Regions from separate parts of the Homo sapiens genome. Here region 1 is linked to region 2. Evidence: promoter capture Hi-C in human tissues and cell types (Jung and others, 2019). All regions are on one chromosome and are shown on one strand. Each heading gives the region's core, a stretch centred on a gene start or on the middle of the fragment in contact. The rest is flanking DNA. Distances are from core to core; before and after follow the strand shown. Region 1 has its middle 55 kb from the start of ZNF519. Region 2 holds the start of SEH1L (SEH1 like nucleoporin).

Region 1 (6,743 bases), core at 2,583-5,082, 1.1 Mb before region 2:
AGACTGGCTTCTTTCACTTAGTAATAAACACTTAAGTTTCATCCATGTATTTTCAGGCTCGATAGCATATATCATTTTAACACTGAATAATATTTTATTTCTGGATGTACTATCGTTTATCCATTTATCTACTGAACAGCATCTTGACTGCTTCCAAGCTTTGGCAGTTATGAATAAAGCTGCTGTAAAGGTCCATGTGAAGATTTGTGTGGACCTAAGTTTTCAGCATCTTTGGGTAAATACTAAGGACTCTAATTACTGAATCAAATAGTAAGAGCATGTTTAATTTTATAAGAAATTGCCAGCCGGGCACGGTGGCTTATGCCTGTAATCCCAGCACTTTGGGAGAACAAGGCGGGCGCATCATGAGGTCAAGAGATCGAGACCATCCTGGCCAACATGGTGAAACCCCGTCTCTACTAAAAATACAAAAATTAGCTGGGCATGGTGGCGTGTGCCTGTAGTTCCAGCTACTCAGGAGGCTGAGGCAAGAGAATTGCTTGAACCCGGGAGGTGGAGGTTGCAGTGAGCTGGGATCGCGCCACTGCACTCCAGCCTGGTGACGGAGCGAGACTCTGTCTCAAAAAAAAAAAAAAAAAAAAAAAAACTGTCAAATTGTCATCCAAACTGGCTGTACCGTTTTACATTCCCACCAGCATGAATGAGAGATCCTTTCGCTTCACGTCTTTGCCAGCATTTGGTGTTGTCAGTGTTCTAGATTTTGGCCATTATAGGTAAGTGTGTACTGATATATTGTTCTTATTTGTTTTTCCCTGGTGAAATATGACGTGGAGCATCATTTTGTCTGCCTCTTTGTCATCTGTGTGTCTTCTTTGGTGAGGTGTTGGCTAAAGTCTTTGGCTCATTTATTATTTTTTTTAGTTATTTTCTTATTTTTGAGTTTTAAGAGCTACGAGATACATGTTTTATAAATATTTTCCTCCAGTCTATGTCTTTTCTTTTCCATTTCTTGATATTGTCTTTCACAGAGTAGAAATGTTTAATTTTGGTAAATTATATGGTTATCAGTTATTTCTTTTAGGAATTAAATCATTGATGCTGTATCTAAAAAGCCATTGCTAAACTCAGGGTCATCTATAATTCCTGTGTGCTATCTTTTAGGAATTTTAGAGTTTTGTGTTTTACATTTAGACTTGTAATCTATTTTGTGTTCATTTTGGTGAAGATGTTAAGGTCTGTGATTCATATTTTAATATGTATATGTCCAGTTCTTCTAGCACCATCTGTTGAAGAGGCTATCTTAGCTACATTTTATTACCTTAACCTCTGAAGTCAAAGATCTGTGGACTATATTTATGTTGGCCTATTTCTAGGTTCTCTGTTCTTCCCATTGATTTGTCTATTATTTCATCAATACCACACTGTCTTCATAACGGTAGCTTTATTGTAAGTCTTGAAACTAAGTAGTATCTCTGTCCTCCAATTTTATTCTTTTCCTACAATATTGTGTTGGCAATTCTAGGTCTTTTGCCTTTTCATATAAGCTTTAGAGTCAGTTTTAATATCCACAAAATAAGTTCCTGGAATTTTTATTGGAATTACTCTGAATATGTAGATAAATTTGATGAAAACTGCCATCTAGACAATATTGTCTTCCTATCTATGAGCATGGTATATCTCTTCATTTGTTTAGTTCTTCTGTTCTTTTCAACTGATAAGAATATTTATTGGACTACAGGTCTCCCTCCTGTGCTGAGGAGTGGACAATGATGAATGCCATATTCTGTAGACAAGTCACCTCTGTGGGCCACATGTCTGATCACAAACAGGAGGGCCATAGAAAGATACAAACACCAAAGGAAAATTGTGAAATTCAAGAATTGGCAACTGTGTCGGAGGCAACCCCTTTTTTTATTCCAGGGTGCCTGTCACTTCCACCAAAATCTGCCAGCTTATGCCAAGGATACTGGTGCTTCTGCTGTTTGGCTCTGCCTCTTAATTGGCTTTGGGTTTTGTACATCTTGAAGTTAGCCAGATAGTGCTTCTTCATCTTTACCTTGAAGGAAAACTTTTTACACATAAAAAGTTTCAGTCACATAGAACATCTATTAGCTTTTATTTTAGTACTTCCTCTGAAAAAGACCATCTTTGTTTCTCATAATCAAGGATTTTTTTTATTAATTTGATTAATTCTATTGATGGATTTCCAAATGCTGAATCTACTTGCATTCTTGGCATAAAGGCCAGTTGATAATAATATAATGTTTAATGTTCTAACACAATGGTTTCTAATATTTAAAACTTTCACAATTATATTCATATGTTCAATACATCTGAAATACTCTATTTGACTTAACCCAGGCAAAGCTGTCATATCACCCTTATGTAGTCTTCCTAAAAATTATTCTTTAAAACTCTTGAATAATTTAGTTAGCATTTGTTTATTAGTAAAATTTATCTCTGGATCATATGAACATGGTACATTTTTGTGTGAAAGGGACTATTTGATAAATGTCTATTTTTTTCTGTAAATATTGTGCAGTTTGGAGTCTCTACAGCAGTAAATTGATAAAATATGTATTCTTAGAATATATATAATGTACATGTACATGTTAATTTGCATTGAATTATACAGCTTCTCCCCTATTAATTTTTTGTATCAGTACATGACTTCAGGCTCCTATGTGCAGAAGTCCTCAACCCCCAGGCTGCAGACCAGTACCTGTCCATGGCCTGTTAGGAAACTGGCCGCACAGCAGGAGGTGAGTGGTTGGAGAGCGAGCATTGCTGCCTGGGCTCTGCCTCCTTTCAGATCAGCAGTGGCATTAGATTCTCACAGAAGCAGCAAACCCTATTGTGAACTGCTCATGTGAGGGATCTAGGTTGCACACTCCTTATGAGACTGTAATGCCTGATCATCTGAGGTGGAACAGTTTTATCCCGAAACCATCTCCGCAACAACACCTGATCCTGTCCATGGAAAAATTGTCTTCCCATCCATGGAACGGGTCCCAGGTGCCAAAAAGGTTGGGGACGACTGCCTATTTGCACCGTAACCTATTGATACATTCTTTACCAGTCTATTGTATGATCCCATTTCTTTATTCATAATTAAATAATAGTTTGGCTCAGGAATTTGGGGAATAACAGAAAATTAGATTTTCAGCAGGGAACACATCAAGGAAGCATAGAATCCAGTAAGACACACTGCCTTGTGGTCAGTCCCTCATGTCCCAGATCTCAGCATTTCCTGCTCCATCTACATGAGTCCTGTCCCTCCAGGGGTCCTGGAAAAGAAGAACCTCTCCAAAACACTCACATCTCTCTGGAGGCACTCACTAGAAAGTTGTAATTGTTTTTGGTAAACAGTAACTGGGAAAATGGTTTTCAAACTATCTTCAGCTCCCCAAGTGTGTACTGTCATTGTTGCTACAGGTGAAATGATTATTGCAGTTTCGAGGGGAGATGATGTCACAAGATCTCGAACCCATATCTCAGAACCGCCTGCCTCCTCCCACACACTCTGGCTGTCCTGACCATCACTTCAAGCCCACCAGCCCTGCAGCAAAAAAAATCAAACGAGTAGTTCAGAAGGCAAAGTCTGCAAGGGAAGGAAGTATATTGGGAGGTACAGTAAGTATTCCTGTCTGGAGAAGGTCTTCTTTGGGGCTAGAAACTGAGCCAGTGCTAAAGCCATGCAGGAAGGAGGAAATAATCAGTGAGCCACGGGCTGAACTTGTGGAAAAGAAATGGAGGGCAAGGTCACAAACCAGTCCCTAACTGCTTCTAATTTAATGTAATCCTCACTGTTTGTCATTATTGCTTTTGATGGCCATGAAATCTGTTTTTTCCCAGTTCTCTAGTGTAATTTGGAATTAATTTCCCAGCTGCTTTATTTTTTTTCTAGAAGAGTCGGGGACATTTTCAGGATTAGTAGAGGTGTTTCTACAACACCTTCATGCCTTCGATAGTGTGTAAGAGTTCACCAATTGAATTACCTTATTCTGTTCAGAAGTAGTAACTATGGAGTTTAACCACTCTGGACATATTATATACTTAATGGAGACCATAGCTGTGTGGTGACTGAAAACATGCATTGTCTACTCCTTATGGTGAGACTGCTTTCCTTCATGAAGTCAGTAAAGAAGGGTAACTTTTCTGTAGATTTTTGTATTTTTAAAAAAGGTCAAGATCTTCGGCAGTTTTCTGAATTGAATTGTTTGTGATATTTGCTCTGTTTTTAAAATCTTCTAAGGCCATTACCAGGTTCAGTGCTTATCTTAGTACAATTTAAATTGATTCCGTGAATAATTTTTCCTGCCTCCAGTTTCCCTTTTACATAGTGGGCTCATGTTTTAATATGTTAAACAATTCTGACATTGAAATAATTTTATTTTATATTTTTGCATCCACAAATACTAATTTTCTCCATATATTAATGGTGATGTAGTTTCTCCTCTGCAATATTTTATTGCCTACTCATGTTTTATGTCCCCTGGATTACAGCACTGTCATTCCACTGTGCCCTATTTCTTGGTTATGATGAAAAGACTCTTAATTCCAGTATGAAATCATTTCTGCATTCCATAAATTTCATTTGGCATCTGTGGAATTAAGGCATCTTCATTGTATTTGGATCTCTGAATCATAAGTGATATTTGCCTATAAATTAAGCAATGATATTTAAATAAGAGATTACCACAATCATATTTTATAAATATACAACCATTTTTAAAAACCTGACAAAATCTACAAAAAAAAGAAAATGAAATATATGTGGAGTTTTAGAAAAGACTGACTAGGTCCAAGGTTGAGGCACATAGTGGTTAAGCACATTGTCAGCTCCGGACTCTGCCTCTTACAAGGAAGGAGGGGGCTTTAGATGTTATTTAGCTGTTATTTAGCCTTTCTACACCTAAGTTCCCCTCACCTGTAAAAAAAAAAATAATAATAAATTGCTTACTTTGTAGAATCATTGTAAATGTTCTATGTAAAATATGAATATAGTACTCACAGTAAATATGTGTGTGTGTGGTGTGTGGTGTGTGGTGTGTAGTTCAGCAATAGAAAATGGAATTTAATAAGAACGTTATGAGTTGAAAACAATGGTCTGTGGACAATATTGAATTTCAGTTGCCAAAATAAAATAGACCTCATGTTTCCCTTCAGGATCCTCTAACTCTGAATATGAATAGAAGTATCAGTCACTGGAAAAGAACAAATGTCCTCTAGGGATGTGGCAATAGGAATAATCTTATCTCAGACCATAATTGGGTTCCTGATGAAAATATTTTTTCTTTAGCATTGTATTTCTCTTTATTTCACCAAATGCACATTAAGGTCTACAGATCTGATTCTCAAACACCTGGCTGTAGCCACCTCCTTTGTGATACTTTATAAAGGAGCCCCACAGAGAATGCCTGCTTTTGGGTTGAAACATTTTCTCAATCATAATTAGGTACAAACTTGTTTTCTATGTTCACAAAGTGGGCAGGGCTGTGTGCATTGGCACCACTTGCCTTTTGAATATCTTCTAGGCCATCACAGTCAGCCCCATGTACTCCTGCTGGGCAGACCTGAAACTACAAGCTCCCAAATAGAATGGGTGCTCCAACATCCTCTGCTGGATTGTGATATGCTGGTAACCGCACGTGACTGGCAAGTGGAATGGCGAAAACAACACAAAGAAGGATTTGGTTACTGTTCTGCAGTAGTTAATAACTGATATGGTTTGGCTATGTCCCCACTCAAACCTCATCTTGAATTCCTATGTGTTGTGGGAGGAACTTGGTGGGAGGTGATTGAATTATGGGGGCAGGTCTTTTCTGTATTGTTCTCGGGATGGTGAATGAGTCTCATGAGACCTGATGGTTTTAAAAACAGGAGTTTCCCTGTACAAGCTCTCTCTTTGCCTGCTCCCATCCATGTAAGACCTGACTTGCTCCTGCTTACCTTCCGCCATGATTGTGAGGCCTCCCCAACCATGTGGAACTGAAAGTTTGTTAAACCTTTTTTTCTTCCCAGTCTTGGGTATGTCTTTATCAGCAATGTGAAAAAAAATGGACTAATACAGCAAAGTGGTATCAGTAGAGTGGGGTGCTGCTGAAAAGATACCCAAAAATTTGGAAGCGACTTTGGAACTGGGTAACAGGGAAAGGTTGGAATACTTGAGATGGCTCAAAAGAAGAAAGGAAAATGTGGGAAAGTTTGGAACTTCCTAGAGACTTGTTGAATGGTTTTACCCAAAATGCTGATAGCAATAAAGTCCAGGCTAAGGTGGTCTCAGATGGAGATGAGGAACTTGTTGGAAACTGGAGCAAAGGTGACTCTCGTTATGTTTTAGCAAAGAGACTGATGGTATTTTGCCCCTGCCCTAGAGATTTGTGGAACTTTGAACTTGAGAGAGATGATTTAGGGTATCTGGCAGAAGAAATTTCTAAGCAGCAAAGCATTCAAGAGGTGACTTGGGTGCTGTTAAAGGCATTCATTTTTTAAATCAATACCTCCTGAAGTCCTCCTGAGAGCGCCAGATATGCATTCGGGCCACATGGAGCAGAAAAGGAGGGCTCCATCACTCCCTGCTGGCCATCAGGGTGCAGTGCAGGACACTCAGAGCTCAATACTTAGTTGTTTCCCAGTGCCCCCTGCTAGACCTCCTACCGAATCCTGAAATTCTCAATTTCTTGATCTGTCTGCTCCTTTGGCTGAACATGCGTCAAATCCACGGGAGCATCACAAAAGGATTCTTTCTCAGTCATGCCTGTGTGATAGGACCTTCTTCC
Region 2 (6,733 bases), core at 1,579-4,078:
CAAAACAAAAAAATTAAACCTTATTACCCAGAAAAAATATAGATTACAATAAGAAGGTGCCAATTTCACCTGTTAAAAATGTAACGAGGGCAATAACACTATCAAATCAATACTATCACTGGCGGTATAAAACGGTACGACCTGCAAAATAGCAATTTGTCAATTCTCTTCAATAGTGTTTAAAATATCCACTAATTTATCTTCTAGAATTAGCCTAAGAAAATCATTCAAAATACATAAAATGCTAAACTAATGAAAAATTTCAGTACAACACTATTTCTGACAAGACATATACGTATATACACACACTCTACCATGACAACTTAAAACGTTAAAGGAAAAACAGAGGAAATCAATAAATATTAACACATTAGCAATAAGTCTATAATTTTTTCACTTTCTAAAAAGAAAAATATATTACTTGCTCAATTAAAAATATATACAAATAAATACATGGCTCCTCCTTTAAAAAAAAAGTACTCTGGAATAAATGGACCTAAGAGGGCTGGGCAAGGTGACTCACACCTGTAATCCCAGCACTCTGGGAGGCTGAGGTGAGAGGATCACTTGAGCTCAGGAGTTCGAGACTAGCCTGGGCAACGCAGCAAGACCCTGCCTCTACAAAAAAAATGTTTTAATTGGCCAGGCGTGGTGGCGTGCACTCGTAGTCCCAGCTACTGGAGAGGCTAAGGTGGGAGGATGGCTTGAACCTGGGATGTTGAGGCTGCAACAAGCCAAGATCGCACCACTGCACTCCAGCCTGGGTGACAGAGCCAGACTCTGCCTCAAAAAAAAAGGAAAAAGAAAAAAGAAAAAAAAAATTATACTAAGTGAAATAAACCAAATATAAAAGGGCGAATATTCTATGATTCTATTTATCTGAGGTACCTAGAATATGCAAATTAATAGAAAGCAGTAGAATAGAGGTTACCAGAGGATGGGGTGGCGGAACAGGGTGCTCTTGGGTACAGAGTTTCAGTTTAGGATGATGAAAAGGTTCTGGAGATGGGCAGGGGCGACGCTGCACAAAAATGTGAATGCTGTGCTCTATGCCACTGAATTCTACACTTTAAAACGGTTAACGTGGGCCGGGCGCGGTGGCTCACGCCCGTAATCCTAGCACTTTGGGAGGCCGAGGTGGGCGGATCACGAGGTCAGGAGATAGAGACCATCCTGGCTAACATGGTGAAACCCTGTCTCTACTAAAAAATACAAAAAATTAGCCGGGCGTGGTGGCGGGCGCCTGTAGTCCCAGCTACTTGGGAGGCTGAGGCAGGAGAATGGCGTGAACCCGGGAGGCGGAGCTTGCAGTGAGCCAAGATTGCGCCACCCCACTCCAGCCTGGGTGACAGAGCAAGACTCCGTCTCAAAAAAAAAAAAAAAAAAAAAAAAAAAACGGTTAACGTAGTTTATTACAACAAAAATAAACTTGTTTTAAAAAAGAAACTACATCTTTTAAAAATTGCAACACTATTTATAAAAAGTTTATCTTTGAGAGATCACTGGTATCAAACTCGAATGTGAAAAAGGATAAACTATCCTTCAGATTTCCAGTTACTCTGGAGTTGTCGAGAACCAAATAATCCGCACTCCAGCTTTCATTCATCCTGCAACACATCTGGGAGGTTCCTAAATCTCATGTAGCATCCCCACATTAGAAATTCTGCTTGTAGGCCGGGCGCGGTGGCTCACGCCTGTAATCCCAGCACTTTGGGAGGCCGAGGCGCCGAGGCGGGTGGATCACGAGGTCAGGAGTTCGAGACCAGCCTGGCCCACATGGTGAAACTCTGTCTCTACTAAAAAATACAAAAAAAAAAAAAGATTAGCCGGGGGTGGTGGCGTGCACCTGTAATCCCTGCTACTTGGGAGGCTGGGGCAGGATAATCGCCTGAAAGCGGGAGGCGGACGTTGCAGTGAGCCGAGATCGTGCCATTGCACTCCAGCCTGGGTGACAGAGTGAGACTCGGTCTCAAAAAAAAAAAAAAAAAAAGAAAAGAAATTCTGCTTGTCGGAAGTGTCTACAGACGTTTACGGGAACTTCAAGAAACAAACCCTCCGATTCCTGGGCAGCAAGCAGGGAAATCATTGGATGTAAATGGTTTGTATTTTTCTTCCTCGGCGTAACAAAGTGAGCTTCTGCTCTGAACCCACGGAGAAAACCATGTGCCCTGGTGAGAGAACACCGGCGGGGCACAGAACTCGACGCAGCGCCAGCCAGGCAAAGTCTCCCACCAGGTCCCACTGCAGGTCGTCGGGTGAACAGCGCGGGCAAGACCCACGACGCCGAGGCTGACGGTGGGATGCCCCTGGGTTCCCGCCCGCAGCCCCGGCAGCGCGGCCTGGGAGAGGGCCCGGCGTACCCTGCGGGCGGGAGCGCGCACGTGGCACCAGCTGCGCAGGCGCACGGGAGGGCGGCCCGCGAGGCCGCCGTGACCCCACAATACGCGGGCGGGGAGGGCTTCCGCTCAGTCCAGCCAGGGCTCGCCCGCCACCCCACAGCTTCCAGCGGCGTCACTGAACCAAGACACAGCCCCGTTCCCCGCGCCGCCCACCCACTCCCCTTCCTTCCTTCCGGGGTCGGCCCCGCCCGCAAGCGCCGCGCGCACCTTAACGCTCTGATCGCTGGAGCAGGTTGCCATCCGCCGCCCGTGGAAGTCGAAAGAGACATCGTGGATGAGATCCTTGTGGTCCGCCGCGATGCTGCGAGCCACAAACATGGTTTCCGTCGGGCCCGCGCCTCCGAAGAGGACAGTGGCGGCGGCAGCGGCGGCGGCGCGTGGCCCGTAGCCTAGCCAGACCTCGCAGCCCGGGAGCGCACGGCTTGTGCTGCCCACGCCCCCGCACCGCCCCTGCCTATCAAGCCCCGCCCACACACCCTCCGGTCCTTCAAGCCCCGCCCCACCCACCGGCCCGTCAGGCCCCACACAGTCCCCTGGCCCCTCAAGCCCTGCCCACGCCCCGGCCCGTCATGACTCGCCCCACCTTCCGGTCCCTCAAGCCCCGCCCCGCCCCCAGGCCCGTCAAGCCCCGCCTACCCTCCCACCAGAGCCGTCATGCCTCGCCCCACCCTCCCGCCCCCTCAAGCCCCGCCCTGTTCCCGGCTCGTCAATCCTCGTCCCGCCCCCGGCCCGTCATGCCCTACGATCCTGGTGCGGGTTCCTCCAGGCTCTGACCGTTCGGCGGCGGAGGGTGCTCTGCAAAAGGCGAGTTACCTGTGCTGAGAAGTAGTAAGAGCTTATTGGTATACTGTGCAAATGAAGAAAGATGAAAAAGTGAAGACTGCCTCTCACGGTCCTCGGCCCTGAATCATTTAAGTCGACGTTTGGATGTGTTTCCCCCCAGACACATGCGAGGCGCGCGGAGCAGGTGGAGAAGACGAACCGTGGGTTTGGTCAGGAGCCGCGCTCCGTCGGGACGGCTGAAGAGCAGGGAGGGCCGGGGAGACGCCTGAGGGGATGACAAGCAGTCCAGGCTCGGCAGCCTAAGAGCGAAGGCTGGACGGGGAGGAAAGGATCAGAAGTAGTAGTTTAAATGTGTCAAGATTTTACAGGTAGAACAGGCCTGGGGGTGCTAGGAGCCACCACGGGGGTAGGGAAATAGTATGAATTAGAAGAGTCCGCCTGTAGAAACGTGTCATCCCGGGGGAAGGAAGCGGCCGGGGAAGTGGGCTGCTTGCTACCCGGGAGCCAGAGTCCTCCGGGGAAAAGGAAGTGAAGAGGGCCAGAGCCCCTGGGAAGAGGCCTGGCTCAGATCAAGGATTCTGCCAAAACCGGAAAGTGGAGGAGCCAACGACTCGGGGGGTTTTGCTTATCAGGAAAAGGCATTCTAGAGGGCGTAGTGGTAAAGTTAGGATGGGAGACAGTGGAAGCTTGCGTCAGGGGAGCGAAAGTACAGAAAAAAAAAAAATGAGGCTGCAGAAGGGACTTGCCCTTTGGATTTTGGCCAGGAATGACAAAAATGTGAGGTATGGTAAAATTAGCAGGCTGGAAAGTTTTTTAAATGATTAGTCCCAGCTGTCCCCTGATGGATTGCACAGAAACCTGCAAAGAGAAGTGGCGCAATGACCTGACCTTTTTCAACCATAAATAAGATTTTATTGCTACTTTAAGAGGTGGGCCCCACCTCTTATGATAACTGATAACAACTATAACTTTTTTGAAGGTCAAAGACACTCATTTCCAAAGAAAGTGCTCACTATAAAAGTCCAATCAAAATATATTGATTATTATAAAAATATCAAAACAGTTTAAAAATTGTTTTAATTAAATTTAAATACAGACAGTAAACAGATCATTGGTTGCCAGAGATTATCAGAGTGGGAGTGAAGTGTTGAATTAGGTGAAACAGTGGATTTTTTAAAATAGACTTTAGTTTTTAGAACACTTTCAGGTTCACAGCAAAATTGAGCAGAAAATAGAGTTCCCGTATGTACCCCTACTGTCACACATGCACAGCATCCTCCACTGTCAACATCCCATACCAAAGTGGTACCTTTGTTATGATCAGTGAACCTACATTGACACATCATTATCACCCAAAATTCAGAGTTTGCATTAGGGTTCACTCTTGGTGTTTTATTCTGTGGGTTTTGGCAAATATATAATGACATGGATCCACCATTATAGTATCACGCGGAATAGTTTGACTGCCCTGAAAATCCTTAGTGCTCCTGTTCATCCCTTTCTTCCGACAACACCTGGCAACCGCTGATCTTTCCACTGACTGCATGGTTTTGACTTTTCCAGAATGGCATATAATGGGAATCTTGGAGTGGCTAGCCTTTTCAGATTGGCTTCTTTCCTTATAGTAATATGCATTTAAGCTTTCTCCATGTCTTGTCTTGAGAGTTCATTTCTTTTTAGTGCTGAATAATATTCCATTGTCAGGCTGTAACAGTGTTTATTCATTCCCCAACTAAAGGGCATTCTGGTTGTTTCTGTGTTTGGGCAATTATCAATAAAGCTCCTACAAACATCTGTGTACAGGTTTTTGTGTGGACATGTTCGCAACTCCTTTGGGTAGATACCAAGAAGCATGATTGCTGGATCATATTGTAAGAGTAAGTTTAGTTTTGTTTTTTGGGGTTTTGTTTTGTTTTTTGAGACAGGGTCTCACTCTGTCATGGCAGACAATCGTGGCTCACTGCAGCTTTAAATTCCCTGGGTTCAGATGATCCTCCCACCTCAGCCTCCCGAGCAGCTGGGACTACAGGCACAGTGCCACCACACCCAGCTAATTTTTCTGTTTTTTGCAGAGATGGGGTTTCACCATGTTGAGCAGGCTGGTCTCAAACTCTTGGGCTCAAGCGATCCTCTTGCCTTGGCCTCCCAAAGTGCTTGGATTACAGGCATGAGCCACTGTGCCTGGCCTGGTTTTATAAGAAACTTACAAACTGTCTTCCAAAGTGGTCGTGTCAGCCAGGCCTGGTGGCTAAATTACCCTGTAATCCAGCACTTTGGGAGGCCGAGACGGGCAGATTATCTGAGCTCAGGAGTTCAAGACCAGCCTGGGCAACGTGGCGAGACCCGCTTCTCTACTAAAAATACAAAATAAAAATACAAAAAAATGCCCCAGGAGTGGTGGTGGAACCGAGATTGTGCCACAGGACTCCATCCTGGGCAACGCAGGGAGACACTATCTCAAAAAAAAAAAAAAAAGAGAGAGAGAATTTAACACAGGAAACTGGTTACATATATATCCAAGGGGTTAATTAAGAGCAAAAAGGGAACATGTGAGATTACCCAGAGACTAGTAACTACGGGAAACTCTGGGCTGGGAGCGTGAAAGGGAAAATAGTTTTACCCAGTGCTACCATCATTGACTCTGAGGCTGCTGACATTGGCACCTTTACCACCAGCAGGCAGAAAGCCAGGAGCCAATACTCCAGCTTACACTGCAGGCGTCCAACAGAGTAACAGCCATGGGAGCCCACAAGCTCTGAACAGCTGAGGTTCCTGGAGCCTCTGCTAGTACTGCTGGAGCTAGGGCTGAGTGCTGCTGCTACTGCTGCTGTTCACATCACCCCCGAGCAGGAAGCCAGGCTCACCCATTGCCACCACCACCACTACTCAGCTATGTGAGCTGCCTCCACAAATTGGAGAAAAGGTCTTCTTCCTCCTGCATCTGAATCCCCTACTGTCTCTCAATTCAGAACCTAACTAGAAATAGAGAGCTAATAAGAGTCTGGAAAAACAAGCTTGGAGGTTTCCAGTTCATATTCTGGAAAGAATACGACCTACAGTGAAGGCTGGGCGTGGCAGCTCACACCTGTAATCCCAACATTTTGGGAGGCTGAGGCGGGCAGATCACTTGAGGTCAGGAGTTCAAGACCAGCCTGGCCAACATGGTGAAACCCCGTTTCTACTAAAAATACAAAAATTAGCTGGGCGTGTTGGTGAGCGCCTGTAATCTCAGCTACTCAGGAGGCTGAGGCAGGAGAATCGCTCTAACCCTGGAGGCAGAGGTTGCAGTAAGCTGAGATTGCACCGCTGCACTCCAGCCTGGGCAACAGAGCGAGACTCCATCTCAAAAATATAAATAAATAAATAACCTACAATGAGTTAAGAAGCTTTCACATTTTTTTTCCTGCTCTGCGCCAGTTTAAATAGCATAGGAACTGAAAGATTCCTATGAAGATTTTGTAGAAGATTCCGTGAAGATTTTGTAGATGACGTTCACAAAATTTTATCAGCCTCATGCCTTGGGTGATGATAGGTATAGTTAATTTTAACTA

What was found. Contacts are between HindIII fragments. The study calls those that stand out against the background at their distance.
Region 1: a fragment that was not itself captured here is called in contact with the fragment with the promoter of SEH1L in region 2 in 1 of the 25 tissues and cell types used here (dorsolateral prefrontal cortex).

What each region holds. Positions count from the first base shown.
Region 1 is chr18:14,074,180-14,080,922 of GRCh38, reverse strand. It overlaps a transcript of ZNF519 not described here and the pseudogene VN1R73P. Among named protein-coding and RNA genes, the nearest start is that of ZNF519, 55 kb to the left of the region's middle. The HindIII fragment of the contact is 5,999 bases long and covers 833-6,743 here.
Region 2 is chr18:12,944,106-12,950,838 of GRCh38, reverse strand. SEH1L (SEH1 like nucleoporin) reads right to left here and starts at 2,828. Exons shown (of 9, transcript NM_001013437.2): 1 at 2,607-2,828. The coding sequence starts at 2,717. RefSeq lists an enhancer at 1,648-2,249 and silencers at 2,181-2,280, 2,291-2,640, 2,681-3,130. The HindIII fragment of the contact is 16,054 bases long and covers 1-4,345 here.